Regions from separate parts of the Homo sapiens genome. Here regions 1, 2, 4, 5, 6 and 7 are each linked to region 3. The links are contacts of gene promoters, found by promoter capture Hi-C in blood cells and fetal thymus (Javierre and others, 2016). All regions are on one chromosome and are shown on one strand. Each heading gives the region's core, a stretch centred on a gene start or on the middle of the fragment in contact. The rest is flanking DNA. Distances are from core to core; before and after follow the strand shown.

Region 1 (3,739 bases), core at 831-3,330, 360 kb after region 3:
AATGCACATCCCAAGGCCAGCCCCATAAATCCTGGCAAGTACGACACAATCCTATACATTTTTTTAAAAAAAGAAGAAACCTATCTAGGCAGTTCTGATTCAGACCCACAGTATGAAGTCACAGCTCTAAAATTCTATTATCCTATTAAATCAGCTGTATAAATAATCTACTGCTGAGCTCAACATAAATTTATTTATTCAATTTTACATAGTTCCCTCTTAATTAGGACAAATAGGTAATGTGTGCTATAGATTTTTTCAAATCACTGAGAAGTTTCTCTCATTTCTTTCTTTTTCTTCAGCTAATGTGTCCCCTTTTGTTCTCTTTGACTGCTGTATTCTTCTCCCAGTTGCTTTTAAGAGTCTATTTTTTTAATTGCACCAGTTAGATTGAGACATCAAATCTATAGGGACATGTAATATGCAAATACATTAGAAACTAAATTATTGAATTAAATAATGTCTTATTTTGACTGAATTCTTGTGTGCTGGTTCCCAAGTGTTTTCTTTTGTCTTCTTCTAAAATTCAATGGGAAGGACTAACTGAAAAGTTTGTCTTTTTCAACCCTGAGTAGTTATTTCCTATAAAAAAAAAAAAAAAGAAAGGAAACCTAAATTGAATCGACATCTCAAATAAGTCAAGTGACCCAGTAGCCTACAAATAAACATTGCTGGCCTGTTTTTGTCTTAGGAGGGGCAAAGCTAGCTAATACTAGTTTTCTTCTGTATTTTCTCAGTATAGATGTTACCCTAAGAACTGTACGCCAGACTGCAATGAAATCAAACTTACTCTAGTGACTTCTTTAAACACGTGCTGATGCTTTTTCAGAGCTGCAGCTTAAGAACCTTCCCGCTTCTGCTCACCTGAGAAACACTGGCTGCCCCTGTTACAGGGAGGCTTGCAACCCTGCAGCCTTGCTCTCAATGTTTCCTGCACACCCATGTTCAAGTGCCCTAATCAAGAAGTCCAGGCCAATAGCAGGCTATTCAGTGATCTCCCTTGTCCCCTCCAGTCCCTGCCACAAGGTCCTCTGCAGCTTTTCCACTTGCGTGTTGCTTAAACAAGTGAAGAGGGCAAGAGAAAGAAAGAGTTTGCTGGCTTCCTTGCCAACCAGGCCCTCCCTTCTAAGACCACACGGCCCCAGTTTCTCTGTTTCCTCTTATGTTTAATTTTCTTTGGCCCAGGCTTTCCTCAATGGTTTTCTTTTCGCATTTTATCACCATAAATTAATTAAAATGTTTCTGGCACTGAGTTCACATCTGATCATCTTGGCAGGATCCCCTTACACAGATGGCGAGTAGATAAAGGGCAATCCAAGCATCCAAGAACAAGAACAGCCCACATAGGGAGCCGGGCGAGAGACTTCCAGAGGAGCAGAGGCTGATTTCAAGAATAGCCACTAGACTAAATGCAATGGTTGGATTGCGTGCTCGGGGGTGGGGAGGAAGGAAAAGACTCTCTTGGAACTTTTTGTATTCCTCCACTGTTTCCCCAAACCCCGCAAAAGAGAGCTTGTTAGCAATTAGGAGAAGAACGAGAAGAAGCTGCTCTACCTCTACTCCCTCTTTACCCTTCAAATTCGGGAAGTTCGGGCAGGCTACACAGGTGTTGGAAGATGGAGGAGGCAAAATGTGGCTGGTAGGAATGGGAAGAAGCAATGATCGATATTGACTGAGAACCTGGTATGGGGTAGACACTATGCTACACCCTAGGAATATAATAAAGAGCAAGGCAGACATGGTCCTTGCCCTCATGGGGTGTCTAATCCAGCAACAGAGACAGATATTAAATACCAAATATCTTGAAGTGGAAAAAAAGAGACCATACACTGAGAATGTGAAATACAGTCTTGTCACTAATGAGAAGGGCACTGCAGAGACAGACAAGAGTACTCACCGCCCAGAGACTGGGACCACCACACCCCAGAGGCTGGCTGCCTCGAAATTACTCCAAAGAGCCCTGAGCACCACTTAGAGAAAGGCTTTGGGGTCCAGACACTCAGGTGCAAAAGAGGAGACCTTGTGATACTCAGTAAAGGAAGGGAAGCAGACCCATGGTCGTACACAAGTAAACTTCCAGAAGGCTATTTGCAAGGAGAGCTAAAAACCTATTGAAACTTTAACTTTTCCCAAAACTACTGACATATAATACTGTCTTATTATAGAGGGCTGCTCTCTTCATCAGAATTAGTAAGCAAAATAAACAGTATGTGAAAAGCACCATGAACAAAATGAACAAGACGCTGTGCTGAAGAATAAGGGAGGTTGTGATCACTTTAGGTAGGGCAATCCAGAGAGATCTCCCTGAGTGATGACATTTAAACTGAAAGATGGAAGGATCCCAGGACCTCACATTTAAAATGTACCATCAGAACGAATGCAATTCAACCAGCCGAAATCAGCCACAGGCCACGAGCAAAGCCCCGCTCTGGGAGTCCAGGGAGAATAAACAAAAACACTGAGTTGCTGTCCCCCCAGAGCTTATGGTCTCCTGGAGCCGTGGAGGCCTGGAAGCCTGGGATCTGGTCACAGTTTCTGGTGGCCTGATGATGTGTTCACTGAAAATCAGTGAGGTCTGTCGTTTCCTGGAGCAAAGCGTGAACATCTTTCCAGCTGATGCCACCCTCCATCAGGGAGGAAGGAAATGCAGTTCACACCATTTGCTTCTATCTTTGGTCTCCATACGTGCCAAGCCTAGCAGTGAACAACTGCTCTCCTGAGACCTTTTTGTAAGGGGAAGAAAACCTCCCCGGAGGCCTCGTGGTCCCTGTCTGCCTTCACTTCTGTCATTCCTTCCCTCTCAGCATCACTGGGTCACTTTTGCATTTACACACATGCATCATGCCATCTCGGCATGTCCCTGTGCATCTCCTGTCATTTTGTGCCCAGGTTTTGTGTCCAGGCTCCACTCTGCCTGGATTCTAAGCAGCTCTGACAAGACTGTAAGCCGCTTCAGAATGAGAATTGAGTTGTGTACTTACTTTTTTTCTTGGCATTTAGTAGGTGCTTGATTAACACAATGAATTGAATTTAAAAGTTACCATGAATATGTAACTCATTTCCAAATTGTTAAAGCATCAAAAACTTTTTTACCATCCCTGAATTTTATCTTACAGATTTACTTTAGAAATCCTGAAAGAAGTGATAGATGCAGGAGGCAGATAAGGGGGAGGGTCCCCAGAGAATCTCCGATCCACTTGCGCACCGGGAGAACAAGGTGGAGCCACGGGAAGTCACACCTTGTGCAAGGGCGAGGGGCCTGGCCTCTTCGGCTCATGCGTGGTGACCTGGAATCCATCTGAGGTGGGGGCCTGTTAGCAGGACCCCCTCTCACTTTGCTGAGAGTTTTTTTTTTTTCCCAATAAATTCCGCGCTACTCACCCTTTCAATGTGTCCGCATTCCTAATGTTTCCTGGTTGTATGACAAAACCCAGTTTTAGCTGAACTAAGGAGCAAAAATTCTGCAACAGAAGGAAGAAGGAGGAAAAGCACTGCCCGTAAGTCCCCACTGCGCTTTACTAGTATTATATTTTCTCTATTATTCTAATGTGATACACAAAATCCATCCTAAAACAGTGACAAATATATATATAATACACACATACACACACTAATTTATTTGACAAGCCTTTCTGTATAAATTTTTTTCAAGAGTGGGATGATTTTTTTCATGATGGGATACGAGAACAAAAAATATTTTAAAAATTTAATGTCACCAAGCATTCCTCGTTTTGCTGTC
Region 2 (3,745 bases), core at 709-3,208, 290 kb before region 3:
GCACACAAACTTCCTCCACTTTTTTCCTCCAGGGCCTGAAAACCCTGAGATGGGGGTGTAGATCAGGAACACAGACAGTGAGAAATTCAGGGAGAGGGTAAAAGGGGACTTCTGTCTCTCCCTTAGTGACTTCTCATACCTGGAATATTGGGATGAGGCTGCTCAACAGAAAGTGATCGGGGTGATTCACATAAGCAAAAATTTTTAAGGGCAGGATTAACATTTGGGAATCACTTATCTATGGTATTCGGGTAACCGTTCTAAGCACAAAGCATTGTTAAGTACACAGGATTTAGACACAGGCCATCCTGGATTTGAATCTTGGTTCTGCTAATTCTTACCTGTGTACCATTTGGAAAGTCATTAAACCTCTCACATCCTCCATTTGTGCATCTCTAAAATGGGGATACAGTTATCCATCTCACAGCATCAACGTGAAGATTAAATGAAATAATATATGTAGAATGCTTAGTACAGCACCTGGCACATAGTAAGTGCTAAATACATGGAAATGATTTCCATGTTTTTGTTTGGTTTTTCTGCATTCACTGATTGCTGCCTGCTCTGTCCTTAGATCCACAAGGGGGCCCTAAAAGTGGAGCTCCTGGGAGAGAAAAGCAGGAGCCCTGTGACAGCAGGCAAGCAGGGAACAAGAGGAGTAGGACAGCTTGCAATTGTCAGTCTGGAGGTGGAACTCGGCAGCTGGGGAAATGGGAAGCAGGCACGGCCAGCCACTTCCAGGACAGAGGCCCTTGCCTCAGGACATCCATTCTTTATTTTTCTTTGGTTGGCTTCTTCTATTTATTTGTTTATTTTCAATTTACTTCATTTTCTTACATTTAAAAGGTGATATTCTCTAATAGTAAAACAGCTTTTAAAAACACAGAGATCACTTAAGGGCATACTACTAAGTGAAACAAGTCCATCTAAAAAGGCTACGTACTGTATGATTTCAAGTATATGGTATTCTGAAAGAGGCAAAACTGTGGACAGATGATAAAGGGATCAGTGTTTGTCAGGATTGGGGGTGGAAAGAAAGATTAGGTAGAGCACAGGGGATTTTTAGAGCAGTAAAGTTGCTCAGTATGATACTAGAAGGGTGAATACATGTCTTCATACATTTGTCAAAATCCATAAAGTGTACACCACCGAGAGTAAACTCTAATGTAAACTATGGACTTTGGTTGATAATGAAGTGTCATTTTTGGTTGATTGCTGGTAACAAATATACCACTCTGCTGGGGGATGTTGATGGTGTGGAAGTCTGCATGTGTGGTGGGAGGGGTTACATAGAAACTCTTTATACTTTTTGATCAATTTTGCTATGAATTGATTGCTATGAATTGCTATGAATTAATTGCTACTAAAACTTCTGTGATAAACAAAATCTACTAATTTTTAAAGATGAAACAAACTACCCATGATCCCACCACTTATTAAAAATAGGTGAATTCTTATTCTCCTTTAATGGCCCTTGTGCACACACACATAGATTTTCATATAGCTGTGATTACTGAAGGATAACCACTTGACCTTCTGCATTATAATTAACCACAGAATAGTATGCTCATTCCTTACAAGAAGCCAAAAGTTTTAATTGCTTAAGCATTTCTGCACTTAAACTAATGTATTTGTGAGATGTATTAGATATCAAACCTTAATGGAGGAGCAGAGGGTAGAAAGCTAACATTTCTGGAGCACTAACAAGGTACCAGGCCCTATGCCAGGTGCTTTACACATTTTATTTTATTTCATCCTTGTAACAGCTATATGAGGTAGGTGTTATTATCTCCATTTTGTGGCGAAGCAAACTGTAATTTAAAAATAATTATCAGATTAACCAAAGATCATCCTTGGGCAAGCTTAGATGATATTTACCAAAGTGTGTTTTGTGAAACCCTGTTTTCACAGGAGGTTAAAAAGCAGATAAATAGCTAATGGATGGATGGGTGCATGCACAGATAGCTATAGATGGATAGCCATATATGTGTATAGTTATAGGTACATATATCTCGTTCTTCTAAAAGTTTTGAGAAGATTTAGGTAAAAATTGAAGAAGCTTCTTTCTATAGGACATCTTAGGGCTTTTATATGCTAATGTCTACTGTGAATTTCAATCATTTTCCACTTTCTGGAGTAAGAATATTGCAGGAGTAGTTCCATCAAACACGATTTGAGAAACCCTAACCCATAACATTATTTATAATTTATTCAGTAGGTTAATTAGTTAATTTTAAGAATTTTCAGACTACATTCTGTATCAGTGTCCATAGAAAATTCCAAGTTTTATCTCATGATTTATTTTATCAAATGAATGATACACTTTAAGGTTAAGCCATAAAATGATGTAGAAGCATAGAATTATAGGCCTGGAAGAGATAATAAGAATTGAAATAGGACACTTCCCAGGCTTCAGAAAGGACAACACCTAAGCCATCATGGACAAACAGGTATCTAACTTATTGTAAAAGCCCCCCAGGGGAGGAAATTCCCTAATCTCCCTGTAACCTATTCCACATGCCCAGCTTTTCTGAGAAAATGATGAGTTCCTTGAAGCTCTTCTACCGTAGTGTGCAAGTGCTGAGTACTTCATTATTATATTATATGCAGATGTCTAGATTTTTAAAAGGGTGCTGGTGAGAGTAGAATAAAGATAGATCTATCTATCTAGCATATGTCTATTTATCTATTTACCTATCTATCTAATCTCTATTATCTATCTAATATCTATCTATCTATCTATCCATTTATCTGTCTATCTTCTATTTGTCTATCTACCTATCCAGAGAGTGAAGAAATTTAAAATGTTGACTCAGAATCATCTTTGACTCCTTCTTCTACCTATTTCCACAGTTTCAATTAATTATCTCATCTTGTAACTCTCCTCTCCTCTGAAGCATCTCTTGATTCAGGCTTCACCATTTTTTCTCACCACCCATGGTCGAAGACCTCCTTCTTGTTAGCTTGGATCTCTCAACTACCTCTTGAGAAATTTCCCTATCTCTACACTCTTTTCTACTTTGCCCCCACAGGGCTAACACCACCATCCTTTCTTTTCTTTTTTCTTTTTTTGTATTTGTTTTGTTTTGTTTTTAGAGACAGGGTCTCTCTATATTGCCCAGGCTGATCTCGAACTCTTGGGCCCAATTGATCCTCCTGTCTTTGCCTCCCAAGGTGCTAGGGTGACAGGTGTGAGCCACCATGCCCAGTCATCTTCATCTTAAAAGTGCAGCTCTATCATGTGCCTCCCATTTCTAACAGACCCCCTTGCCAACAGGATAAATGTGACCCCTGTAGACTGCTCTATTTAGCTGCTTGTGATTTGGTCCCAATTCCCCTTCCCAGTCTCATCTTCAATTATTCTTCACTGCACATGTAACAAACACATCACTAATACTGAATATTCTTTTCTGAATTTTCATATTTTCATGCCTTTTTTCATCCCTTCTGCATGAAATTCCTTTTCCTCCTTTCTTTGTTGTGTTCTTGTTCATGTTGAAGTCCTAGCTCCTCTGGAAATCTGCATAGGTCTGTCTAGGCCAAACTAATTGTTTTCCCACTTTTTATATTATCCAAAACTTTTACATATTTCTCACTCACATCATTTAGAATGCTATGTTGCAAAATGTGGCAGATTTCAAACAATGGGTCATCTGACTTTGATACATTCCATGAAGAAAGACAGCGGGAAGAGGCTGAGTGGAGCAAGTGAAGGGGAGACCAGAATGACTGATCAGCAAAGAAA
Region 3 (4,323 bases), core at 1,224-3,723:
CACAGTTTTCAGATCTTAATGTGGCCGAGGTTTTACAACTCCCGACCCGGCGCAGAAAGGAAATCCCACCATGTTCCCCGGAGTCGAGAAAACGGTGAACAGCTTTCGGCCTGCGCTCGACCTCTGCGTCTGCGTCTCTCTCGCCTCGGCTTCCCTTATTTTTTAAACCACCACCACACTCCTTCCCCCGCCACTTCCTTCCCCCACCCCCTTCCTCCGTTGCACCAGCAGCAGAGTCGCACGCAGCAAATACTCCTTCAAGAATTTTACCTACCTACAGTTCAAGCAGTTACTGGGATGTCCTGACTAATCGAAGATGCTGCCGCGCGCGTGGGTCGCTCTGCGCAAGGGCCTCTTCGAAAACCCGACTAGGCGCAACTCAGCGTTCAGCAGGGCCGGGAGCGCCAGGTCGTCCCCGGGGCCCGGGCCCCATGACTCCTGCCCCAAAGCCCACTCCACCCGACCTCCCTTTCCTGAGGCTGTTCCCAGTTGCTGCTTTGGGTCGCTCCGGAGCTCAAGAACTCGGGTTGCCTGCCGCCCCACTCTCCACGCACATACTTGGTTTTCTTCTTAGGGGCATTGGCAGGTAGACTTTGAGGAAGAAAAGTAAAGGATCGAACAGCTCAGCCCTCCCTCCCGACCGTGGATGCCCGGAGTCGACCAACACCTCAGGTCCGGGTGCGGAGGCCGCGGGCGCCCCTGCGCGACCGTCCGCGCCCGGCAAGAGCCGCGCGGCTTTCGCCTTTGCTGGTCCCGCGCCACCGCTGGGGCGGGCTGCGAAAGGGTTGGGAAGAGCAAAGGGTTTTTTTGTTTTGTTTTGAGACGCAGAAGCCCTTTAAAAAGCCCGGCGAGGAGAGGTCCAGAAGTAGAGAAAGCAGACGGAGGCAAGCTGTGCCCGCGGGGCAAAGGGACAGTAGAAGGGGCGGGCGCCCGGGTTCCCCGGAAAACCCTCGGCCCCAAGGAATCTCCTGGGGCGGGAGAGCGCGGTTCTAAAACCGAGAGGATAGGAAGGGGAAGGGGGAGTTGTGTTTCAATTTCGGATTCACCAGGATTCATCTCTAGTCACATTTTTCTTCTCAAATTTTTAAATCGAAAAGATAAAAGCCAAAAGAACTTTCATCCCCAGAGCTTTTTATTGGGGGAAAGGAATGTAACTCGGGGTGGTTGTCCTTCACTTCCCTACTCGAATCTTCTCCTAATGCCGAAATGTGTTTACAGGTAGCCTCAGTTTACCAAGTATGTATCTTTTGGGGGTTTAACCTCTCACAAAGCCTTCAACTCACAAACCGCGATCCTTGGAAACCATCCTCCAAAGCAGTGCTTGGAGGCCTCTAAGGCCCCCGGACCAACTCCCGCTGGAAGAAGCCTGCAGGGACTCGGGAATCACGGGAACCTTTCCCGTCGGTTCCGGGCCTGGAGGGCCAGGAAGAGCCGCGCGTCCGCCTTTCGTCCCGCCAGGAACTCCCCATAGGACACGACACCGCAGGAACAAGCGTCCTGGGAGCCCCTGGGATCTTGGCTGTCGTCTCTAGGGACCCTACACCGTGAAATGATAGAGGCGAGGTTCCTTGGGTTCCGCAAGTCGACGAAAATAGCTCGTGGAGAAGGCGCGTCCTGCAACTGCAGTTCGCAAGCTCTCAGGGCGCCCCGCCAGCTGGGGGCCAGATTGGGTGACACTCCCCTCGACGCAGCCTCCGGAGCGGCGCGCACTCTCCAGAGGCCAGCAGGACTGCGCTCTCTACCGCAGAACCTGCTCCAGCTAGGTGTTCTCTCCCCATCTCGCCGTCGCTCTGCCCCCTCACTCTCTCTGGACCTCAGAGCCGGTTCTCTCCTTCCTCCTCCCGCGCTTTCCGTCCGGGGATCGCAACCTCCAGCCCGTGGGCAACGCGTTCAGCCCAAGACCCCACAGTTTTTCCCAACGACCCCCCTACCAAGGGCTTCTCTTGTTTCTGCTCTCCTGCCCCGCACTTCCCAAAGGTGAGAATCTCCCAGGGACTGCTGGACAGAGAAGGCCTGGGCAGGGGCAGTAGCCGATATTTAAAGGTCTTTCAGCGCCAGCATCCCCACCTCCAGCACCACTATTGGAAAATAATTAGGCCACCTTTTGCCTCGGTCACAGCCTGTGACCAGCTTCTTCCCCCCAAGGAGGCTCCTAGACCCCCTCTGCCTGTCTCCCCTCACCAGGTAGCCTTGCTCACCATAGGTCCCTGCAGTAGCGGGCTCGCCAGCAGCAGCTCCTGGGGACCTCTGAACGGTTGCAGTGAACCTGGGCGAGGGCCGGGGACTGTGGCGCTGCAGGCTCGAGATAGCTTGGACGGGAATCCCATCGGGGAGACAAGCTAGATACTCAGCCGGAGCAGCAGCGGCGTCTCAGGCTCGCGTCCCTCAGCTCGGATGCCACACTCACCTAGCTTCCGGGCCGGGCTCCGCGCTCCTTCCCTCCCTCCCTCCTCCTCTGCCTTCTCGCATCTTCCTTCCTCCTCTTTCCCTCCCTCGCTTTCTTTCTTTCCTTCCTCCTCCTCTTCCCCGGCGGCCCCTCCCTCCTTCCCTCCTCCCTCGCTCGCCTCCCTTTCTGGGGATGGGAGCCCCGCCCACATCCTCCCCTCCAGCCGCCCGACCTCGCCTAGCAGGCCCGGGTCCCGGAAGCCCAGGCAGCGCCCGAGTCCGCAGCTGCCGTCGGAGCTGGGACGCCGCTGCCTCCAGCTCTGGGAAGCGGCTGGGGCTCACCTGGGGACCACGTGCGGAGGTACTAGAAAGCATGCACCGACTAGTCGCCGTACCTTCCAAAAATACCCATGGGAGTCTGGGCTTCCCTGAGTTTAGTGTAACTGCTGCCCAAACTGATGATTAAAACACTGAGTAATCACCATTTACCCTGAGTAATTAGAGATAATGAAACACCTCTAAAATCAGGTTATGGAGAAAGGAGCTGTTGGATCGGTTTAAAAGGTGGCCTTCCATAAACTGTTAAAAGATTTCCAAACGTTGAGAAACAGGCTGTGTGCAGAACTGTGTGCCAGAGAGAGATACCTCTTGGGCTGTTAAAAGGTGAATTTCCTTCCAAAACATTCTTAAAGTGCGTTTTGTAGAACACCTTGGTGATGACCCTGAGGTAGACCCCAGTAAATGAGCTCACTTCCCTCCTCCCCCCAAGGCCTAAAGACAGAGGTGGCCTGCAGACAGGCTGGGGCCACGTTTTTTACAGTTAGAAAAATCTGTTTCTAGCTCAGAAGCCGTCTTAAGAACCGACACAGCAGTTATTTTTGTTGGTGTTATGGTTGTTGTTGATTTTTTTGTTCATTTTTGGTGTACCTAAGAGTCCTGACACTCTGTCTTTCCAAGGAGATAACCACAGAAGCAGTAACCTTTTAGGCCACAGGGAGACAAGAAAAGATGCCCCTTGGTCTGTTTTTAAAGGAAGAGGGGAGATGAGGAATTGGCCCTTTCATATAAAAACATTTTAGTAATCATATTAGCAGGGAGGTGGAATGTGGTGGCTTTTAAACCTTCCCAAACAGGAACTAATTTCACACACTGCCTCTGATGGAGCTGTGAGGGAGCTATCAGCCTCATCTCTCTGTTTTACAAACAAGGAAAGGCAGGACTACCAGGTTAAAGGGACTTGCCCAGATCTCTGAAGTAAATCACAGCCTCTGCTCCAGAGCTAATGCTTCAGGGAGGGGTTGAGGCTCATAGCCTGAGCTCCAGGTAGCCAGAGGAGTGCTGGAAGACTGAGCATTTCCTGTCCTGGATTTCTTTCCCTGGGACAGACATGACACTTTACTGTCTCTGCAAAGCATTTAGGTCTTTACTTAAACAGATATTGGCCCTGGGTGGCTCATCTATAAAAACTTTACGTTTATACACCTTCGATATTTAAAAAACAAGAACTACTTCCTGTGTGGAACACAGATTACAAAGGGTGGGAAATATCTGAGATCAGAGAAGCAACTGTCAGAGCAAGGCCAAGACATCCTGCCATCTTTTCCATCTATTAGGCCTAGGTCTTTTGGCCTAATGCACCAAACAACAGAAACAAGCTGTATGGCTTTGGGCAAGTCTTTTCATTCCTATGAGTCTCAGTTTTCTCATCTGCAGAATGAAAGGATTGGGCCAGATCATCTGCATGCTCCCTTTATATTTGAAAATGATTTGATTATTTAATTGTAATTTTAGCCAAAGTCCGTCTTCCTTCATTTTAAGTCACTCCTGAGTTCACTTTCTCTAAGAACCACTGATTAAAACAGGGCAGGGCAATAACACCACCCCAAAAGGAGGACAAAATATACCTGTAGCTTCCAAATAGTCAAAATCACAATTAAT
Region 4 (4,009 bases), core at 723-3,222, 410 kb before region 3:
TAAAGGGCTTGACAATAAGTGGGAAAATACTGCAATTAAAATTAAGATGATAAAACACACTCTAAATAACATGAATATCGTTCATAATATATTAACAAAGAAGTGAAGCAGGTCCCATGCTGTACCATGCTGTGGCTTTTGCTAATTGCTTCTAGCGTTACTCTGTACCTTGGTGGCTGTTGGAACTCCTTTCTCTTGCATGCCCACTGTGGTGGATGCTGTGCTGTACTGCTCAGGTCTCCCTTCAGGAGTAAAGGACTTATCATCCTGGATGCTGAGAGTGTCTTAAGCAGGCACCCTCAGTTGTGAGTCCTCTTAAGCTATTGTATCTCTTCCCAGAATGACCCCCATCTGATGATTGATGCTGGAATATAAAGGCCTCATTTCTCTTACCACAATTCAGGACAAATCTTAAGCATTAACTCATCTTCAGAACTCCCTGTAGGGTTCTAAGGCTTCCATTGGGACTGCATTGCAGCTCAACTTCTCCTTCTACTCAATCTTGCTTCCTTCCCTCCTCTTCTCTTCTGCAGTTGTTTACTCTCAATAGTACTCCTTAATAATCTCTTGCATGCTACTCTGTGTCTCAGAGTCCACTTCCCCCAGCTACCACCTTGGCTCCCTGCTCCACCCCATGTTACTGTTGCTTTCAATATGAATAGTCATTCTACCAGATTCAGGCCTGCTGAATTCCCTCTAGCCAGCCAAGATGTAACCTTCCCCTAAACTACAGATGGGGGCCTGCCAGATGTTCTAGGTTAGGGAGGCATGAAATGAGCAACCAAGCAGGAATCAGAAACTCAGACCAGCAGCAGACAAGGAAAATACCAGGTGATATCACTTATAAAGGGGAACCCTTGGGATCAAGTAAGGAGTGAAGATTAGGAAAAGGAGGTGGGGAGCCAGATTGTTACTAAAAACATGTGAAGGAAAATACAGCAACAATATTGGTAAGCAATGAGCTTTTATAGGTATGAGGGACCTAATAAGAAGATGATTTCTAAGGTGGTGGTTGTATCCCTTTGCCATGATGGAACAGAACTTGCAATATTAATCAGGATGAATTAATGACAGAAGAAATGATTGGCAAGAGCGGTGATGACCTCTGGGGTGAAGATGTTAAATCAGCAGCCCCTTGTGATTTTTGCTTAGAAGCCAGAAAAGTGTTTCCCCTTCAGGGCATCTAAACTCTTATGGTAAAGAGTAACTGTTGTATGAATGGCCTATAGGTCTTAGGCTGAATCGTGTGAAATTGCCAATATTCAACTGTATTTGACCTCCAAAAATGATAACTTCACGTCATTCCATTTAATAATTTTTATTTATTTATTGTCTGTCTTCCCCAACTAGAATGCAGATATGATTTTGTTCAAAGCTGTGTCACAGTATCCATTACAGTGTCTAGCAAAGTGGGTACTCACAAATTTTCGATGAATTAAATAAATAAATTATGTAGTTCCTAAATATTTCTTGGCCATAATTTACTGTAATCCTTGGGACTTCTTCAATTATAAGTAGTATGACTTCAATTTATATTAGTTAAGCAAAGAAGATAATGTTTTGGCATACACAACTAGAAATTCTAAGGGTACTGGCTTCGGGCACAGCTAGATCCAGGGGCTTGAATAATGTCATAATGATTTGGTGTCTTGCCATTGTTTGACTGATTTTTTTTTTTCTGAGTTAACAGTATCCTCAGGCAGGTTCTCTCAATTTGCCAAGTGTCTCCAGGCTTACAGTCATTAGCTCAGCAAACCCCAGAGAAAATAAAAGTGGCTCTTTCCCAGTAGTTCAAATAGAAACTCCTAACTTTGACTCTCACAGAATCTACTTTGGCAATGTCTGAGGAGCCAAGGCGGGAGGTCAGATTCACCTCAGTCAATTGGACTGAGACTGGGAGAGATGGTGATTCTCTGAAAGAGAATCTTAGTGCTGTTCCCAAAATAATAATTACAATAATAGCTGACAATTAAACACTTATTTCCCAGACACTATTCAAAAGGCAATACCCTCAGAAACCCTTTAAGGGAAGCACTATTATTATGTTTATTTTATACATGAGTACACTGAAGTATACAGAGGCTAAGTAATTTGCTAAAATTCACATAGCTGGGAAGATAGAGCTAGAATGGAAACATTCACAGTCCCACTGCCCGCCCATTCCCTTAACCACTACACTCTGCTACCTGAAAAGGAGTTTGGGGGTAAAGAAAAACATGGATGTTCACTGTACTTAGCTCATTTATTTACAGAGCCAATGGTCTGGTAGCATCTAACTCATGATGGCAAATGGAGAGTTACTGGTTCATCTGTGGTCTGGGCATTGCCAGGGTGGGTTTTCTCTGGCAACCCAGAAGTTGCTTCCTGGCTGGTGAGAAAGTGATTTCTCACAATCATAGCTTCTTGTTTTATGGTTTCCTCCCACATCTCTCTCACATGATGACTTCTATCAAGTCAATTTGTTCTATTAAAAAATAATTTTTAGAGCATCTTCAGCATACTCAAAGGAGAACACTCGGTGGATGTTTAAAAATGTTGTGAAATCATAATCTGAGTTATTATATTTAGGTAGCTTCTAGCTTTGACATTCCAACAGTTTGGGGATATATTTGTGTATTGGATGCATGAGTTGATTCCCTGATAAATGCCACATCTGTCTTTTCTCCCTCCAGTTCCTTACCCATCTCCTTGAGGATAATTTATCAAAGTTTACTTCTAACAGGTATGGAGTGGTGACGGCTCAGGTGTTCTATTTTCCCTTCACAATGGTGGATGGTGCTTTGTTGAAGAACGCTCTGGGGAGCTAGAGAAAACAGGCCTGAAAATCCGTCCCCTTGCCTGGGGTAGATGAGGCTTGTCTTTGGGATAGAATGTCTCATCAGGTTTATTTCCTGTAAAATGGGAGTGAAATCAGATGAAGGATTTTGGTAAGGATTCTTCCCAGTAGGGCTCCTGCTTGGCTGATTGACGTACTCACAGTTGTTGGAGTGGTTGTAATCTCTGCTTCTCTCTGCACATTTGCTCTTGTCTCCTCTCTGCAGGCTAAGATCCTCTGCAGCTTCTTAGTTTCTGTTTTCTTATGACTTCAGCTCTGTCTTGCCCTGGGCTGCCTCTAGGCCAGGCTTTCCATGACCTGATGGCTCAGGTGCTTATCATGACCAAGTGATTCATTTTATTTAATTCAAAGTCACTAAGTCTGTTACTGGTCCATTTCAGGTTATAGATGAGTTCAATGTTAGATCAATGAACTTCCCTCATCCTGCAAGCTGTGACCAGAGGGCAGAATCATGTGGTCCTAACATGAACCTAGGATCACTCCTTCAGCAGAGGCTTTGTGGGGAGAGCAATTTCAAGGAAAGAGCATGGAAATAATAAATATATTGGCTACCTTATCCAAAATAGTCCCATGTTATAAAGCAAAGTGATTTCTTAACTGGTATATCCACAGGGAAAATTCAATGAGTGCCAGTTTTCTTGTTTGTTTGTAGGTCACACTTAACACAGAAGTGATTTCTGAATTCTCATAAACTATAGTCATAGGAGTTTTTATAATGAAAGCTGGTTTGTTTTCTGCTTCTTCAAAAATGATAACCTGGGTATGCCATACAGATAGCTTTCTACTAATCAGAACACTGAATTATTCCTCAGTACCTATTCAAACTGCAAACGAGATTTTCCTGCATTTGGTCATTGCATATAACTTCACAAAATAGAAAAACAGAACATAAGAATAATAATTTTAATTGCTAAGTCAATTAAAGAGGAGGGAACCCCGCTTGGCAACAATTAAAAAGTCACATAATACCAAGTACTAGTGAGGATGTGAGAATTCTCCTGGACTGCAAGGTGGGCAGGAGGGGCTAGTTCAGACATTCTAGAGAACAAAATGTGAATATGTATTGAAAAATAAGTATGTGAATATGTAGTAAAATAAGTATTCCTGGGTCTTCCCCATGACCCACTAGTCTAACTCTCAGAATTAGACCCAAGAGAAATTCTTCCATTGACT
Region 5 (3,988 bases), core at 1,353-3,852, 430 kb before region 3:
GAGAAATGAAATGCCTCACTCTTCCCCACCTCAATTCCATGGGGACTGGGACTCGATAGGTCAGGGTTGAAGTTTGGGTCTTGGGGACCAGAGCTGGGTAGGGAGGGGAGGAAGTTACCATATGAGTGTCCCAGCATGGAAAAAGTCAAAGGATTATTCTGATCCACTGTCTTTAGGGAACATGGAGGCTTAAAACCAGCATATGAAAATACTGCCATTAAACTGAAGGGGCCACCTTCAGGTTGGCTGATGAGAGGCAAAGTCAAGAGTTAGGAGCTGGGTGAAACCAGAAGGACGTGAGATCAGGAGCAATAGGAGAATGTTTTGGACAACTGCAAGAATGAAGCTGGAGCTTGGGACCTGCCTTTAATGGCCATCAGCCAGGCGTAGTGAAATAGATGAAAAGCACAGCATTGGGGTAGATCAGATGTATGACCAGGACTGCACATGTGGAAAGAGACTTTTAACAAGGGACACACCCATCTTTGTATCTCTAGCTGCTCGCAAGCACTGAAATACACATCGATGGGAAATAAACATATGTAGATAACCAATTTGATCAATGAAATCAGTCAGCAGCAGGTAGAATTTGCCCTCACACCTGGGCTTTGTCTCTGCTGGCTGATGCATGTGTTTCACAATTAGTAAATGCAAAGCAGCATTTCCCACTCCACACACACATACACCTTAGCCTGTTCTTGCCATAAGCAAAAGGCCAACGCGTCCTTATTTCACACTCAGTTTTGGAGTAGTTTGTGTTCCCTTGGGTAGGAAACTCCCTCTTCTTGTTTTCAATATGGTGACTTTTCAGCTTATAGCCTGGGTAGGGATGTGATATTTGGTTAATGCCAAATTTGCTCTGAATGTTGCTGGCTTTAATATTTATGTCCTGGAAAATGCAGTTCTCCCCATGGTTTGGATATTTTACATCTACACGTTATATTGAGAAAGCCAGAGTTGAGGCTCGTGGAAAAAAATAGCTAAATTGATGACTAATTTTACATCAGAAGCTTTTTCAACCAGAGAAACAGTATGCTACAAGAGTAAGCAGGGCCACCCCACCCCTGATCCCCTGCCCTCTGCCTGGAGAGAGGAGATTCTCAAGTGTCTCTTTGAGAGAGGGTGGAGGAACCACTGAGCAGAGCCCAGCTGTGTGGACCCACACAGCAGATGGTTCAGTTGAAACACAGGAGGCTGGAAGTTACTGTTCACTGGGCACTACTGACCAAGGCCCTTGCGTAATGCAGCCACTTGTTATGCTGAAGAGGATTGTTTAGAAGGAAAATGGGCTGGTTTTTCTTGCTTCACATATCCTTACTGGAAGGTCATGACCGATCTTTCTTACTGCCCACATTTTTATTTATACACCATAAGGAATAATTTCCATCTCACTCTCCCCACTCCTTTGCCAGAACATATAGAAATGTCTGTGTTCAAAAGGCTCTTGTTTTCTTGGCTGAATATCAAGATTTTTTCCAGATTGTCAACTCCTTAAGAGGGGAGAAGCATAAAATCCAGCTGTAGAAACCAAGAAGTGACCTAACATGATCCAGGTGTTTCCAGTTTTCTTAGGAAAGAAGGCGAGTATGTATGTCATGTCTGATGGGCCATGTCTAGAGGATACTGCCCGATCACATTAGGTTGCTGATCACAGTTGTGATGGTGGGTTGTGGGTGAGTCCACTGTGTGTAACAGCTATATCTGATTTATCAAAATTGGTTTTGTAGTGGTATTCTGAAAGTTCGTGACCTTATTCAATGCACATAAAAAAGGATTTAAAAGCAGTAAAATTGTAAAGACAACATGGTGGTATGTAAATGCAGGGAAAAGGCAGAGGAGAAACGGGCTTTAACTTTAGTTCTGCCACTTGCCAGCCATGTTTCTGTGGATAAGTCTTCAATCTCTTTGATTCTCATGTTAAAAATCCATAAAATGGATAAAATGTCTGCCCTTAATGCCCCATTATAAAATTAAAGTATTGTATTGGGGACAGATTTATTTATACAAATAACTTGGACAAAGCTATGTAGATAAATGTACATTTAGTGGTCTGCCAGCTTACCTGTTAAGTCAGTAGTAACATTCCAAGCCACCATCCATCAACTGGATATGGTCTACTATATTTTTAGATTCCATTTTTTAATGAATTAAAATTGAACAAGTCTGGCAGAATAAACTAATTTCCCAGAATGAATACCATGCCACCTGCCAAAATCTTCCTCATCCACCCTGTCACCTACTTCTCAAAGCATTCTTAGGTCTTCTAATCTGTAATGACTCCATTAACTCCTGTGCCTTCCTAGCATGGGTCATGTCTGTGTCAGCTCTTACGGGAGGTTAGCGACTATGGATGATGGTCATCCGGGAGCATGTCTGTCTTCCCCTGCAGAGAGGAGCCTAGTCTTAGTTGGCTTTGGGCCTGCCCACCTTACCTTGTAGAGTGCCATGCATGTAGGTACACAGAAATGCTTTTTAAATTGAATTACTATTTTTCTTCAGTAGACTATACACGGGAGGGAAAAAAAATGGTGGTGGCTTCTGAAGGGCATCTGGTGTTAATAAATGATGTCACAGAAAAAAATCAGAGCAAAGATCAGAGAGCTGGACGGCCGTACATGCTTTGCCACTGCATGGCTCTATGTGCCTTGGATGAGTCACTAAACTCTCCAAGCCTTTGTTCCCTTCTCTTTGTAATGAGAGAATGGGATGAGTTTGACATTATGCTTCTTTACAGCACTAAGATTCTAACATCTAAGGTAAGGTGCTGAGAACAACTTCAGGTAAATCAAGGAATGTGTTAAATTTTTAAAAAATTTTTATTTCTTTATTATAGAGGTAAAATGTACATATAAAATTTACCATCTTTACCATTTTTAAGTGTACAATTCAGTAGTAAAAATACATTTATATTCTTTTGTTTTTTTCTTTTCAGCCCCCCAACCCCCTTTCTGGCCTCTAGATGTTTTAAAATGGGAACCACATAAGTGGGTGATTCCAGGGCAAAAGAAGTCTATTCTATTTTGAGTGGTAAGGATTATTTTACATAACTATGGGATTCAGAATAAGGTATTTATCAAGTGTGTCTGTGGATGGTGTTTCAAATATGATTTAAATTGGCCAGGTGCAGTGGCTCACACCTGTAATCCCAGCACTTTGGGAGGCTGAGGCAGGCAGGTCACTTGACCCCAGGAGTTTGAGACCAGCCTTGCCAACATGGAGAAACCCCATCTCTACAAAAATACAAAAATTAGCTGTGTGTGGTGGCATGCTCCTGTAGTCCTGGCTACTCCGGGGGCTGAGGCAGGAGGATCCCTTGAATCCAGTAGGTGGAGGTTGGAGTGAGCCAAGACCATACCACTGTACTCCAGCCTGGGCGACAGAGTGAGACTCTGTCTCAAAAGAAAAAAAGGGTTAAGTTAAAAAAAACCTAGCATAAAAGGAGTAGTCCAAGATTATCTTCGCTTGGCCCATTGTACAGCTTACAAAATATGTCATATTAAAAATAAATACAACTTAGAGTTTTAATCAAGTCTGAATTTTGGTGGTAATTATTTTTGAAATCTCATCACACTTTTTTTATAAGACATTTTCATTTAAGAACAGTTTGGAGTTATCCCAGAAACTTGAATTATCCTTTAAAAGAGTATTACGTGAAATGTATTTTTATTAGTGGAGAAGAATAGAACTCTTTCACACGCGTTGGGTTAGTTTCATTTCCAAACTACAGACCCTTACCTTGTGGAGTCAAAGCAGAGATGGTAGGTACTTAATTGTACTCTTTGAATAGTGCGCACTGTACCAAATTATTTTATTGCTGGGTCCATTCTAATTTATTGAGACCACTGTAACATGATCTTGTTGGGTCATACATAAACTGTTCACTTCTCTCTATACTGATTTTACCAAATCTGCTATATACATCTAGCAATCCAGTCAATTTTGCAAACTATTTTATCAGGATTGACTTTCCATCTATCTTCTTGGGGAC
Region 6 (3,819 bases), core at 1,261-3,760, 380 kb after region 3:
TACTCCAGTGGGTAAGCACTCTGTCCTCCAGCTTCTGGGCCAAATTGCAACCAAACAATCTATCAGGCACTCCCATGGGATAGTCAGACATTTGCCCTTCGATCTATAACACAATTTGACCTTTTTTATGCGGAGGTAAACACCACGTGTCACCTCTGAAAACTCAGCCTTGGAATCAAGCACATCTGGAATCAGCCTATAAATGTAGTCCTGAGATTAATGTTGAACAAGAAGGAAGGCTAAGGGTATTCCGCTTCTGATTTCCACTTACTGACAATTCTCACTTAGCAGCAATGTTCGCCTTCCACATGCGGACACCTGAACACTACCCCCCTGTCAAGAACACCACGCTTACACTGGCTGAAAACAAGCTTCAGAACACCTTGGAATACAGTTTAGCTTCCTTTGAATCCCCAGCATGTGCTTTTGCATATCTCTGTCCTCCAAGGGCAGAATCAGAAGTGATGAAGCAAGAGTTCAAAAATGTTCAGCTGCATAGTATTCCCAACGAGGCTCACTCACACAGTTACCTGCACAGCATCCCCAAGGAGGCTCACTCACACGGTTACCTGCACAGCATCCCCAAGGAGGCTCACTCTCACCGTTACCTGCACAGCATCCCCAGCGAGGCTCACTCTCACGGTTACCTGGGGTACATTTTTAAACTCTGTTTTCACTGCTTATCATTATGACCACAAGTTCCAGTGTTTCAGGGTAGGAATTGGTACCATAAATTGAAATCTTAGAAACTCACAAATGCACAGAAAATGTTCAAAGTTGCCATCTTCTCCAGAAAGGTTATACTTCCAAGAAACCAAAAATAGAAAGAGAAGCATGAAAGTGTCTTGTCTTGAGCCTAATTGAAGTAAGTCTACATTTGGAGGAAAAGTAAGTAACGCCATATAAAATCCTCATTGCACAAAAATGATCTCCCTGTTAATATATGGAAATGAGCCTCGCAGATCCAGAGTTCAAAACACAGATTGTCGGCCTAGTGCAGTGGCTCACGCCTGTAATCCCAGCACTTTGGAAGGCCAAGGTGGGTGGATCTTTTGAGCCCAGGAGTTCGAGAACATGGTAAAACCCTGTCTCTACAGAAAATTTTAAAAATTAGTCAGATGTGGTGGTGCCTGTGCTCCCAGCTACTTGGGAGGCTGAGGTGGGAGGATTACTTGAGCCCAGGAGGTCAAGGCTGCAGTGAGCCATGATCACACCATTGCACTCCAGCCTGGGTCACAGAGTGAGACCCTGTCTCAAAAAAAAAAAAAACAAAAAACAAAAAACACACACACACACATCATCTCTAACCCTAGTTATACAACTAACATGTTGCTCAATGGCACTGACTACAGAAGATGCCCTGTTGAGAAGGAGGAAGACTACTTCCCAGTAAGATTGTTTCACATTAAATGTAACGTATTTCATGTCATATGTAAGCACAATTTGGGGGGGTTCCACATTTGCACAAACTGCATTATTTAAATAGTGCCTCTTAGCATCAGCTCATCAGCTCCTGCAGTGTGTGCCAGAATTTAGCAGCACAATGTGATTGTATCACAAACATCCTGGCCCTCCTCACTTTACCTCTGAAACCACTTTTGGTGACTGACCTGCTTTCTTGGAGGCCTTATCAGCCTCTTCTCCCCTTCCGATTGTAGATCTGATCTCCTGCCTGACATTCCTGTGTTTAGACTGTCTGGCCAACGGCACTTCCCTTCGCTGTTTAACAAATAGGTTTCCGCAGCCTGTGGAATTTTTTGTTTGTTTGTTTGTTTTCCACACAAGGCTGAGTGTACCACTTTCTGGGAAGTTTCTAGTTATTTCAGGGAATTCCTAGTTTTGTCAGGGAGTTAAGCTTCCCGTTTTTCTAGGTGAGTGTCCCAAAGTTAACATGTGAGATCAGCTGAATCACAAAAACAATTCTGGCCTTCAAGAAAATTTTGTTTGCCTTTATGTTTGATAAGAGTGAACAGGAAAGAAAATAAAATTCCTCCAAATCCATGCCATTTCTCATGTTCTTGCCCCAACTTCAATCCATCCAAAGTAATGCCAATTCATCACCATTAGGTGTTCCTAATGTACTCTTTTCACTAAAAAAGATTAGAACTTCACTCCTACTTTGGTACCTGTAACTAAGTATAACATAGTAATCCATCTTCCTATTGTAATGTTTTTCTATTTTATTCTTTTCCTTTGGGCTTTCCTCTTACACATAGAATTTAAACACACGAACACATATTCCCGTGCACCTCCGAAATCCAACTTCACTTTATCATCTTCTTCCAAGAAATGGAACACTGTATCCCATAAACAGGACGGGTAAGGGCATATCAGAGCCAACCTTTTCTTTGGCTGCCTTTCAAAAAGTTGTTTAAAACAAGATATGCTCTTGAACTGGAAAAAGGCATTACACAGGATAACCTTAGAAAGCAGCCACTTGCTTTGCCCAACTAATATCACCACACAACCCCATAACTTTGTGTGGAGTGTTGTCTTCAATTACAGGCCAGAAGCACACCAGCAAACGGCTAAATTAAGATGAAATTAATTTCAATGTGAGAAGACCATATTGAAATGTCATGCTGAATATGACTATGGGGAAACACTTGACAAGCGTCTGATCATTATGAAAAGAATAATGCAAAACTCTTAATTCTATAAGATGCATGATTCCAGCTATTGTCAGTTATCTCACCAACTGATTTCCAACAGCAGTATCTACCCTGGGCTTTGCTGGGTTTAATCAATGAATTTTCCAGAGTCACCCACACCATCCCTTCATTCCCCCAGAATAATGACCATATTTTGTGAAATAAATATGGTCATTTCTTTCACAAATTTCAATTTTGATGCAATTGAAACATGTTTTTGTTTCTAGGCAGGGCTAACTAGAACCTTAGCCACTAACACCGTAACACCAGATTTACCTAGCTAAACCAACCAAATCAGATGCCATCCCCTCAACAAGCAAATGCAACAGCCTTTATATTAACAACCTGTTGAAACAGACATGTAAGCAAGCCCAGATGCAAGTCAATAAGCAAAAATATAGACCAGGACTCAATAGAGTTGGTCCACAGATACATAATATCTAATAAAAAGTGACAGCACTTATTAGACAAAAAGAACACATACTTCATTTGCAGTTTACTCCTTCTGTGCTAAGAAAGCTTGTAAAGAATTTTGTGAGCTGAAGTATTTTAAGCTAACTGCAAGGCTGCCAAATGCAGTTTTTGCAGAATTCCTCTACTGAGAGTGTGGTGTCAATGTTACCGTGGAATCCAGAAGGATGGATTCTGTTAACTACTCCTCCAGGTACTCCCACCATCATCAGATGTTAAGATAATGATCAGCACATCTTGTCCTCCAAAGCTTGAGCTCCACCGAAACCAGCACGGAATTTCTATTTCAAGCATGTTCAAATAGAGTCACCAGAAGGGGTTCCCTCGTGGTGGGAAGTAACTGCGGTTTGAGTCTATAGTAAAACTTGACTTGGAAGCATCTCCTTGAGTAAAAGTGGCCCTTCCCGTTACTGTTGCTTCATGCCCTGTTACATCTTTCCTAATTCAGTCATCACCACGGACCCACCCTCCGACCAAAACAAAACCTAGATGGCCTAGGTTCCCATCTGCAATGTGGAGCAATGGTGATCCCTCCCAACTTTCAGGAAGAGCAAAGAGCAGCAGGCTGCCTGTTCCATGACAGCAATTATTTCAATAATAAAGATCCCTATTTTACTTTTACGTGCTTAATCCATGAAACTCAAAATGCACAATGTGCTTGGGATAAATAAATTCTTCCATCATCTTTCGGAGACAT
Region 7 (4,103 bases), core at 442-2,941, 390 kb after region 3:
AAATGGGATGCAATAATTATACCTATTTCACAGGACTGTAATAAAACCAAGTGGAAAAAATACAAGTGAAGCACATATCCCTGTGCCTGACATACGGCCCATGCTCTGTAAAGGTTACTGGTATTTATTGCTGCAGCAAGAAGCCCAGGCCTTAAAGAGTCTTCTACAAATGCACGCAGTACTCTGAAGAAGGTGATTAAATCAGTTATGACTCTGTGGGTTGCAAGTGAAAAGCAGAAAATCCTTCAAAAGATATAGAGCCCTCAAGAACTCTTGGAGGGCATGCTACCACAGACGAGTCTCTTCCACAGTAGCCCCAGAAGTGGTTGCACCACCACATAGATTGGATCCTATGGTGAAAGGCTGGGCTCACTTTAAGGCTGGGCAGACTGAATTGTGAAGAAACTCTGCGACTTATTCATAGATTGTGAGAATAAATGGTAAACAAGTAAATGAGCAAATACATCCATGCCAGGAAGGAAACAAACAGGGTGCTTTAACATTTAAAAAGAAGTGGGTGTGTCATACCCAGCACAGGCAATTCCATACAGACAAGACGGTAGATGAGTGGATGCCAGAGGCTGGGAGGAATGCGAGGTGGGCCGTGACTTCTTCATGGTATGAGGTTTCTTTTGGGGACAATGGAAATGTTCTGAAGTTAGATAGTGGTGATGGCCGTATAATATTGTGAATATACCGAAAACCATTGAATCGTACACTTTTAAATGGTGAATGTGGTGTTTTGTGAAATCTTATGTGAATTATATCACAATTAAATTTTTAATTAAAAAAGAAAAGCTGGCTGGGGCCGGGCCTATTTTAGATGAGGTAGTCAAAAAAGTTCCCTCCAAGGGGTTTCTATGACCAGAGGACTGAGAAATGGGAAGGAGCCAGCCTTTGGAAGATGCACGGAAGAGCTCACTGTGCAGATGGAAGAGCAAATGCAGATGCCACAGAGTGTGCCCCGCTTGGCAAGGTCCATGTGCTGTCCCAGATTCGGCCCCTGGGAAGGAAGAGAGAAAGAGAGCTTGAAGTGTAGGAAGAAGCTATATCCTAGAAGGCCTTGGTAGGGCACAGTAAGAAGTGGGGAGTTCATGCTAAATGAAATTGAAACCCACAGAAGGCTTTTCCGCAAAGGAGTGCCCACCCCACTTGCCATTTTTGGAAGATCGCTCCCAGCTCCCAGCACGCAAAGCACCCATTACCAAGTGGCAGGACCAACACAAGGTATGAGACATTGATGAGATTCATTCTCATTAGTTGGAAGCTTCTGCACTTTCAACAAAACTGTAACCAGGGGCTACGAATTAGATGATGAGCTTATTCTTAAGAAGACATGTTATAAAAGGTAATATGAAACAATATGGATTTCTTGTCTATTCCAAAAGGCACCTTCTCTCTTTCCCCATAAAATACTTGGTAATAAAAGGATACTCTGTCACCTCCCAGCTTCCTGGAGTGACAATGGCAATGCTGTCATTATTAAGTCAAGAGCGCCCTCTACAGTTATGAGTCTAGATTACAGCTTACTATTAGCCTCGAACAATGTCTACTTTTGTGAAAAATTACCATCCCCTCAGCTCATGCCATCCATGATAAGCTAGTCCCACCAACTCTTTCCTGAAAACTGAAGGAAAATATTCAAAGGAAGTGACATTGGCAGCTTTCTTGGATGACTGAAATGTCAACACAAATGTGTCGGCTCTTTGGAGTAACAGTCTCCATAGGCCAAAAGGAGGATGGTCGGGTGTATGTGTGTGTGTACAATATACATCTATCTACTCACTGCTAATCAATATTTGATCTCATTATGTAACTGGAAAAAGAGAACATGTGTTTGATCACTTTGTGATTATCAAAATACTTGATATCAAGTCGGTGAAAAGTACTTCAAAAATGTAGAAGTTTATTATCTTGCCATAAAATAATAGAACAAAGAGGCAAGGGACTGGCTTCCATTGGCCCAGTGACAGCAGCAGGAGGCTAGGAGAAGCTCAACCAACAGCTGAGCAGTAGTATGGACGGGTTGAAAAAGCAATTGATATTTGGGAGGAAGGCTTTGACCAAAAAAGTGGGGAGATGGATGGAACCATGAAAATCGCATGAAAAAGTGCGAGAAGCTTTTTTAAAAATTCCCCAGGAGAGGGATTTTAAAAAGAATACCCAGAGAGAGGCGCCTGTGAGCAGCTGGAGAGGACAGGGAGGACTATTTGTCTAGGAAATTAGAGCTGTTAGGCAGAGCTGAACTGCCTAGAGAATGGGAAATCATAATTTGTGAAACGCTTTTATTGCACCCCGCCATGGTGGATTCCTTGTCCCAAATATTCTTACGCAAAATTTATTCGGGAAGGAGAAAGAAAGGGCATGCGAGTTCAGAACCTGTCTCACGCCTCTAAAACTTCCAGGCCACCTTCAGTACAAAGAATGGGGGGAATGTCCGGGCGAGCCACGGGAGGCGTTGGGGAGAGGGGAAAACGGATTCCTTCCTGCCGTTCTGCTTCCACTGATTAATACAGCCATTAAAAAATGAAATCTGTTCCTTAGACAAAATATGGTGAAACATTCCTGCGCGCTCCATCCTTGAAACAGATTTCAGTATTGGCCTGTCTTCTCAGTGTTTGTTTTGGTTCCTTCAGCCCACGCTGGAGTCCATGGGTTTTTTCCTTCACTCATCATCTCGCCTCCTGCTGCTTCAGCCGAGAATGAAGTAATAATTCAGCAAGCTGTTCAGGACTTCCCATCAGCCCAACTGCACCGCGCCGTGTTTTGAGGGCTCAGGCATCCTTGAACTCCACGGCAGAGCAAGCCGCGGGAAGGAACTCACTCATGTTGGCTCCCTTGCCTCAATTAAGGCAGTTTAGGAAGCAAAGTGAGAGAAGCACTTTAAAAAGCACAAGAATATCTCCTCGTGGGTCCTCACTTGCATGTTCTTACGAAGCCGGATTGTTCGTAGCCTACTCTGCAATTTCAGAGTGGTGAGTGGCTCCAAAGCAGCTTACAAGGAAACATAACTGTCACAGAGGCTAAGAGATTGCTTAAAAATAAATTACTGATTCTCTTTTCCTGAGAGCAACCTGCTGTGACCTTTGGAAGGCTTCTTTTGGGTCTTCAATTTTGCATCTGCCTGAGCTAAAAGGGATTGCCAGAGTCCCACTGTTTGGTTTATGACCCAGCTCATCCCTGTCCCTTGGAGGACGTGAGGACATGAGCCTGGCATTAGTGCACACTGTAAATGTGTTTGTGCCCAGAACTCTCTAGAATAGAAAGGTTTCCAAGTACTTCACTATAATGACTTAGTCACAAATGAATTTTAATATGCTAGAAGAACATGAGTATTTTGGATGAAAAGCCAATCTTTTCGTCCCCCCTTTTAAAATAGAAAGAAGCATAGCATCTGAGCTCTGTGGAAGGGACCATCCAAAACTAATGAAATACCATCTTAACGTAAGCACCTAAAGCAAGCATGTGTGCGCCATGGGGGCCTCAGTCCTGGTGGTTTCCTGGAGAAGATTTCACATGAGAGAGAAAAAGCTTCTCTGTTCCCTGATGCAGTGTGGATATTTTTAAATGGACTTTATGCGTTTTTTGTTTATTTGGTTTGGTGCTGAAAAATTAGACAAGGCACTCAGCTCTCTTCACATGACTAAAGTTTGAACTTGTGCATAATGAGTGCAAAATAGTGTCTGAAAATAGCAAAGAACAGAAGAGTAAGATGATCAGCGGGAAGGGAGGCAGCACGTCATAGGGAAGGCAGCCAGTACTCTGAAAAGCAATCCAACAAATAATTAACTGGTTGAAAGCCAAGAGGACAGTATGATAACAGACACTGATAGACACTAATTATAAGTGCAGTACTGTGAAACATGAAGAAATGATATGGTTAACAATCCTAAAAATGTTACAATGGGCAATGTAAGATGAGCAAGGAAGCTACAAGGAACACTCTATCGTGTTATATTTTGGCTGCTAATTTCTAGCAATAACACATTTATAATGATATGCTATTAACAAATTGACCAATACATCTTTTTTTTTTTTTTTTTTTTTTGGAGACAGGGTCTCGCTCTGTCGTCCAGGCTGGAGTGCAGTGGCACAATTTTGGC

What was found. Contacts are between HindIII fragments. The CHiCAGO score rates a contact against its expected background, and 5 or more counts as called.
Region 1: a fragment that was not itself captured here is called in contact with the fragment with the promoter of BMP4 in region 3 in 1 of 17 cell types (endothelial precursors); the score reaches 6.0 in endothelial precursors.
Region 2: a fragment that was not itself captured here is called in contact with the fragment with the promoter of BMP4 in region 3 in 1 of 17 cell types (endothelial precursors); the score reaches 5.4 in endothelial precursors.
Region 4: a contact is called between a fragment that was not itself captured here and the fragment with the promoter of BMP4 in region 3, in 1 of 17 cell types (endothelial precursors). The highest score is 13.7, in endothelial precursors.
Region 5: a contact is called between a fragment that was not itself captured here and the fragment with the promoter of BMP4 in region 3, in 1 of 17 cell types (endothelial precursors). The highest score is 6.0, in endothelial precursors.
Region 6: a contact is called between a fragment that was not itself captured here and the fragment with the promoter of BMP4 in region 3, in 1 of 17 cell types (endothelial precursors). The highest score is 15.4, in endothelial precursors.
Region 7: a contact is called between a fragment that was not itself captured here and the fragment with the promoter of BMP4 in region 3, in 1 of 17 cell types (endothelial precursors). The highest score is 5.6, in endothelial precursors.

Annotation. Positions count from the first base shown.
Region 1 is chr14:54,313,613-54,317,351 of GRCh38, forward strand. No RefSeq gene overlaps it. Among named protein-coding and RNA genes, the nearest start is that of CDKN3, 82 kb to the right of the region's middle. The HindIII fragment of the contact is 5,014 bases long and covers 1-3,739 here.
Region 2 is chr14:53,663,289-53,667,033 of GRCh38, forward strand. All of the region lies in intron 2 of LOC105370504 (a long non-coding RNA gene), which reads left to right. Among named protein-coding and RNA genes, the nearest start is that of LINC02331, 190 kb to the right of the region's middle. The HindIII fragment of the contact is 197 bases long and covers 1,861-2,057 here.
Region 3 is chr14:53,954,352-53,958,674 of GRCh38, forward strand. BMP4 (bone morphogenetic protein 4) reads right to left here and starts at 2,474. Exons shown (of 4, transcript NM_001202.6): 1 at 2,199-2,474. It overlaps LOC124903317, which reads left to right. Exons shown (of 2, transcript XM_047432035.1): 1 at 1-1,977. The coding sequence starts at 1,550. RefSeq lists promoters at 77-1,372, 77-397, 2,300-4,323, 2,300-3,642 and silencers at 1,598-1,707, 2,357-2,436. The HindIII fragment of the contact is 12,206 bases long and covers 1-4,323 here.
Region 4 is chr14:53,544,725-53,548,733 of GRCh38, forward strand. The region is part of intron 2 of LOC105370504 (a long non-coding RNA gene); the gene reads left to right. Among named protein-coding and RNA genes, the nearest start is that of LINC02331, 300 kb to the right of the region's middle. The HindIII fragment of the contact is 7,693 bases long and covers 1-4,009 here.
Region 5 is chr14:53,527,112-53,531,099 of GRCh38, forward strand. The region is part of intron 2 of LOC105370504 (a long non-coding RNA gene); the gene reads left to right. Among named protein-coding and RNA genes, the nearest start is that of LINC02331, 320 kb to the right of the region's middle. The HindIII fragment of the contact is 3,188 bases long and covers 1,009-3,988 here.
Region 6 is chr14:54,329,352-54,333,170 of GRCh38, forward strand. No RefSeq gene overlaps it. Among named protein-coding and RNA genes, the nearest start is that of CDKN3, 66 kb to the right of the region's middle. The HindIII fragment of the contact is 1,315 bases long and covers 1,854-3,168 here.
Region 7 is chr14:54,346,697-54,350,799 of GRCh38, forward strand. No RefSeq gene overlaps it. Among named protein-coding and RNA genes, the nearest start is that of CDKN3, 48 kb to the right of the region's middle. The HindIII fragment of the contact is 853 bases long and covers 1,266-2,118 here.